2 separate regions of the Homo sapiens genome follow, and region 1 is linked to region 2. The links are contacts of gene promoters, found by promoter capture Hi-C in human tissues and cell types (Jung and others, 2019). All regions are on one chromosome and are shown on one strand. Each heading gives the region's core, a stretch centred on a gene start or on the middle of the fragment in contact. The rest is flanking DNA. Distances are from core to core; before and after follow the strand shown.

What was found. The method cuts DNA at HindIII sites, captures the fragments that hold promoters and counts their contacts. A contact is called where the count stands out against the background at its distance.
Region 1: a fragment that was not itself captured here is called in contact with the fragment with the promoter of NR6A1 in region 2 in 1 of the 25 tissues and cell types used here (mesenchymal stem cells).

Annotation. Positions count from the first base shown.
Region 1 is chr9:124,724,050-124,726,821 of GRCh38, reverse strand. All of the region lies in intron 2 of NR6A1 (nuclear receptor subfamily 6 group A member 1), which reads left to right. LOC124902269 (a long non-coding RNA gene) reads left to right here. Exons shown (of 2, transcript XR_007061772.1): 1 at 1-2,772. Among named protein-coding and RNA genes, the nearest start is that of MIR181B2, 32 kb to the right of the region's middle. The HindIII fragment of the contact is 4,902 bases long and covers 1-2,772 here.
Region 2 is chr9:124,770,017-124,772,716 of GRCh38, reverse strand. NR6A1 (nuclear receptor subfamily 6 group A member 1) reads left to right here and starts at 1,406. Exons shown (of 10, transcript NM_033334.4): 1 at 1,406-1,697. The coding sequence starts at 1,598. It overlaps LOC124900274 (a long non-coding RNA gene), which reads left to right and starts at 2,237. Exons shown (of 2, transcript XR_007061773.1): 1 at 2,237-2,700. LOC107987126 (a long non-coding RNA gene) reads right to left here and starts at 1,360. Exons shown (of 2, transcript XR_001746926.3): 1 at 944-1,360; 2 at 1-15. RefSeq lists enhancers at 1,007-1,266, 1,057-1,624 and silencers at 1,337-1,916, 2,457-2,700. The HindIII fragment of the contact is 6,332 bases long and covers 1-2,700 here.

The DNA of each region.
Region 1 (2,772 bases), core at 166-2,665, 46 kb after region 2:
AACCAGATCTCTTACATTCCAAGGTTAGTAACCCAGCCATCCTGAATCAAAGGTTTTTCTCAACTAGGCTTTAGTGTATGGATGACTGGCTCATGTATTTACTGTATATTGGGAAGAAGTGAAGAAGTGAGAAGAAGTGAAGAATTTCTTGGTCAAAGCTTAAGTTACAAAGAACATGAGTGGTCTCGAATTAGATGCCTCTTCAACTCAAACACTCCTTACTGAGAGGACTTTATAAAACAAGCAAAAAGTCTACCTCTCTCCACCCTCCCCAAATTGCAAAAGTGAAAATCTGAAATGTGGCCGATGTAGCTTTTCACTAAGAAGCAATCATGGAACGTGAGCTGAATCAATCCATCTTCATCTCCACTTCCTCCAATCTAAAGGTTTTGCTCCCCAATATAAAGGAATAGCTGAAGGATGCAGCTAACCGATGAACTTACCAGCAAAATACATTACATGAGAAATATGCTAATGTAGGCTAGAGGTGCAGGACAGTTAGGGGCAGGAGGGAGAAGGACAATTCACAGAACTAGTGGCTTTTTCAAAGGATTTTAGGGGACATTTTTGGTCATGGAGACTGGTGCTCACCTACCACTAAGGACATACACAGTTACAGTCACTACTTAACAACGATGTGAGGGTTTGACATGACCCCAACTAAAAAAACTTGAGTGTTTATGAATGTAATTACTGAGCTATACTTGGCCTGATTTCCTCAAGTATGATATGCCTTTGACATCACCCAATATTCAGGAAATTTTGCCCTGTGATTGGTACCATAAAAATGTAAGAACTAATCAAAAGTTCATTTCTGTTAAAAACCCTTCTTTTCCCTTAAGTAGCTACATCTGGCAAGATTCTCATTTACATTAAGCCTGTAGTCAACAAGTCTGTTACAAGGCATACACACTATACTTTGATCATTAAATAATGACACAACCAGCAAACTCCTTTGGTCTAACATTTTTTATTCCCTCAAATTTGATCCGAATTTGTCAGTATTTTAAAAAGTTTTTAAAATTTGGTATTTTTCTCTTAAGTTGACTAGAGACGAATTTTTGCCATGCTCTCCAGGCTGGTCTCAAACTCCTGGGCTCAAGTGATCCTCCTGCCTTGGTCTCCCAAAGTGCTGGGATTACCAGGCCGAGCCCCGCATGACTTTTGAGGATATTACAGATTTCCTTGTGTTGTATCTTTGGAATTTGGAGGCCCAAATATTGCCCCCCATTCCCCAGATTCCTGATAGGAAAGCCTGCTCACACTCCCTTATTTTGGAACAGGAAATACTTCGTTGCTAATTTCCAGTTGTGCATGGCAGTGGTTGTAGGCAGCAGGTTTGGGACAGCAGGTGTCATGTGGGAACTAGTTGAGGAAAGACTGACTTTGTCCAATTAAATGGCTTGGCTTTTTTTTTTTCTTTTTTTTTAAATACCTTTAGTGTGATAAAGCAGATGGGCAGCCATGCTCAGAATATGGGCAGCTGTTCACACTCTGGCTGCCTTCCTATGATTCCTGGACTTCCTGGAGTCCAATGTTATGGCACAGGTTCAGGCTAAGTTCATTTCTACAAGAAGTGTCCCTGTACCATGTCCATTAGCATAAGCTAGGGACAAGGGCAGTCAAAGGTCAAGAGAAGTTCAAAACAGCATAACCTTTCTGTGCTTCTGTTTCCAAATAACCCCTGTCTGCCCTGCTCCCCGAGTTTTTTCCTCGGCCGTCGTGTTTACCGTGTAGCTGTAAAACTCAAGAGAACAAGGACCGACTTGATACAAGGGAAGTTAGAGAATAGAAGTCATTGTTGCTTAAAACAGGAGAAATAATTGATTTATGTTTGGGGGCCAGTTAGGCTATAAAACAGGAACAGTAAAGGGACCTGTGACTTCAGGACTTGCTCTGATTTCTGTCCCATAGACAAGGGGCTTCCCAATAAAGGCTGTCAGCTTTCTAGGCTAAATTATTAATTCCTTTCATGCCTCTCAGGGATTGTAAACAGCACATAATAAAGGGAAACAGTTGATAGTGTTCGGTTACTGGCCAGATAGAGGGTCAAAGGGTAAATAGTTGGATTAGCAACAGCTGTTCTTCCTCGCCAAACTTTTTGTCTCTTATTATCTATTTCAGAAATACTGTTCCTGAATTTTTGGCTTACATATAATGAAGTCCATTTCTCCTCTTGTAACATAATCCTACAAGTAATTACACTGAGAGTAAACATTGACCAAAATTGAAAGTACTTACTTTAATTCAGTTTCCAAAGTTGAAGATTGAATTTTTTTTTTTTTTTGGTATGTGCTATGTTGTCTGATGTTCAAAGGATATAATCCCAAGGAAAGTACCTGCTTGAAGTTAGACATATTAGAAGCTTTTTAGCTGTGTGGTTTTTTTTTTTCTCTTTTTTTACCAGCTGGTTGAGGATCTTGGTGTAGCTTGATTAAAAGAAAAAAACATTGTTTTTGTTTAAACTGGTAGTAGAATAATGTATGGTTCACTATGGAAAACACTAAAAGAAAATAGAAGCATCTCTAATCCCACCACCTAGAAATAACCATTGCTTCACGTTTGAGAGTATGTCCTTCCAGGTTGTGTCCGAGCTCATCTTTTACATAATTAGGAATCTATACTATATATGCAATTTTTGTATCCTGTTTGTTTTCCCCCACTCTGTATTACATTGGGAACATTGTCCCAAGTCATGAAACGATTTTCACAAATGTTTTTAACGGAAGGATATTTCATTAAATAAGTAAATAGCTTTATCATGATTTATTT
Region 2 (2,700 bases), core at 157-2,656:
TGGACTTCATCAGTGCTGGAAAGGGACAATATTGTTGCTATCTCATAGAGCAGGTATGAGGTTTAGACGGCAGAGCGTTAATGTAAGTCTCCCAGATTACGTATGAAATACAGTTTCACCAGGGTTGGTAAGGTCCAGTTGCCCCCAAGTGCAGAGAAGCGTTGCAACTTTCGTAGCAGGTGAGGGACGGGGTATGGTGCGAAATGTGGGCAAGGGTCAGGCCAAGCAGGGATGCGAATGCCAGGACGAGGACTTAAAATTAGGCAAAAAAAAAATAAAAGGGCTAAGGGATTGGTGGGGCGGGTGGGGCAGGAGAGGGCGAATGAGCGGCCACCGAGGAAGCTGCAGCATAATCCGGCAGAGCAGAAGTGGGCAAAGCACCAACGTTCTCGTTCTTTGTCTTCAAGTGGGCCAGGTAGGCCTTAGACCCTTGGCGGCAGCAGCGAAATCCTTTCCCGATGGGGTCGCCGAAGACGGACACCCCGGCGGGCCTAGTGACCGGTGGCCGCGCGCCACCTGGTGGCCGCAGCGGGTGGATTCGGCCGGGAGCCGCTGCAAAATTCGGGATTTTGCTTCCGGAAAGCTTCGGGAAACTGAGGTGGGAGGGGCAGGGGTTTGCGATCTTCCAACTTGATCCTGTCCTTATTCCAACCCCCTTTTACAGATAGGGAAACTGAGGAAAGGGGAAGGCAAACAAGGCTGGGCAAGGGATCCCTCTTAAACGGAAGGTTTCAAGACACCTGGGGTCAAGAGCCTAGGGCTTTCTTTAATAGCCCCAATGGCCCGGAGCTTAGTTTGCCCATCTGTTCTATGGGCAGGGGGAAAATGAAAGGGGAGGAGGGGAAACTTTAGTCTTTGCCGCCCACCCGGAGGTAAAAAGTCTTTAAAGACTACCCCGGAAAGAAGAGTTTTATATATTCCATTTGCATACGAACGCAGTCACCTCGAGTTAAACTCCGGTCCTTTAATCTCCGGTCCAATTTGTCCCGCAGCGGCAGGGAGAGGCCCACGTGAGTACCTTCAAGCCCCGCCTCCAGGGCCCCGCCCACAGGGCTGGGCTTCGTTGCACGTGCTCACCCGGCTGCCTCGCGATCCACCTCCTCGCAAAGACTCATTGTTGGGGTGGGGGGTTACGAGGACTCTTAGGGAACTTTGATCAGGTAGAAATCACAATCAAGACAAGGCCCGGAAGTATCCGCTTACTACATAGACATCAAACGCTTTGTCATGGTTCTTGATATTGACAGACTTTAGCTTTCCCTTCTCAGGACTTCTTATCCCTCCTTCCACCCCTTCAGTTGGTGCGGTCGGCGTGGCCGGCCTCGCTGAGCGGACTCCAACTTCCAGCGTGCCCCGCAGGGCCTTGCGCGGCAGCGGCGTGTGACGTCAGGGGAGGGAGCTGGCCAGTGCTGAGGGGGCGCGGCGCGGAGGGGCGCGGAGCGGCGCGGAGCCGGGCGGCTCGGGGCCCAGAGAGAGCCGCGGCCGGGAGCTCGCGGGCTCCTGACAACCTCCTCCCCTCGGCGGACGACGACCACGGCGACTAGGGCGCCGGTCATGGCGGAGCAACAAACCCGGCGCGGACCCTAGGCACCACCGCATGGAGCGGGACGAACCGCCGCCTAGCGGAGGGGGAGGCGGCGGGGGCTCGGCGGGGTTCCTGGAGCCTCCCGCCGCGCTCCCTCCGCCGCCGCGCAACGGTGGGTGAGGGGCCTGCGACGCCCGGGCCAGGCAGGAACCGGCTTCCTGAGCCTCCGCCAGGGATCCCCCTCCTCTCTGCCGACCCTCGCCCTGGGAAGCCGCAGCGGCCCCGCGGCCCCTTAGGGTGGCCCTTCACCCCGTTCCCCGTTGGCGCGGACCCTCCCTCTCCTCCCCGGTCTCGCTCAGGGTGGATCCTCCTCCTTCGTCCCTGTTCCCTTCTGCGCGGACCCTCCCCCTGCCCGGGTCCCTGGGCACCGAGCTTCATTTCCCCCTCCCCCCGTCCCCTCTGCACAGGCTTCCCCTCCCCCCGTCCCCTCAGCACCAATCCTCCCTCCTCCCCCCGGGTCCCCTCCCCCTGTCTTCCCAGCACCGAACCTTCCCCTCCCCCCGGGCTCCTCAGGTTGGAAGTCCCCACCGCGGTCCGTCAGTGGGGGCATCCCCTCACTCGGGTTCCCTTAACGCAGAGCCTCTCTTTTCCCCTACAGGGGTTCCTCCTCCCACCGAGGACGCTCCCTTCTTGCCCTGTTGACCCGACTCCACAGCACCCTTGTACCGCTCAGCTTTCTAGAGCGTTTTCCTCTTCTGCAGCCTCGAGCGTTCTTCCTTGAATACTACGAGCCCCCCACCTCTGCCGAACCCCCGTTCGCTAGACATCCCCCAGTCGTTTCCTTTTTCGGACCCCTTCGCGCCTCCTGCTTCCCCTGCGCCTCACCTTCCTCAACGCCCCGCGCGCTCTGGCCGGTCTCCGCCCCTGCTCAGCTCCCCTCTCCGCCAGGCAACGGCTTTCCCTGGCCGAGGGCTCCAGCCCGCCCCGGGGCCCCGGACACCTGCCTCCTCCCGGCTTCTGCCCGGCAGGTCCCGGTCCCCACCTCTTAGTCTCAGTTCTCCTCTTTCTTGTCCCGATCCGGGACCTTGGGAGCTGAGAATCCCTCACCTGGCCCGGCCCTTCCTACCGCTCGTCCCTCGCCCCCTCGCCCGGGCCGGGTCCTCAGGTTCCTCGGG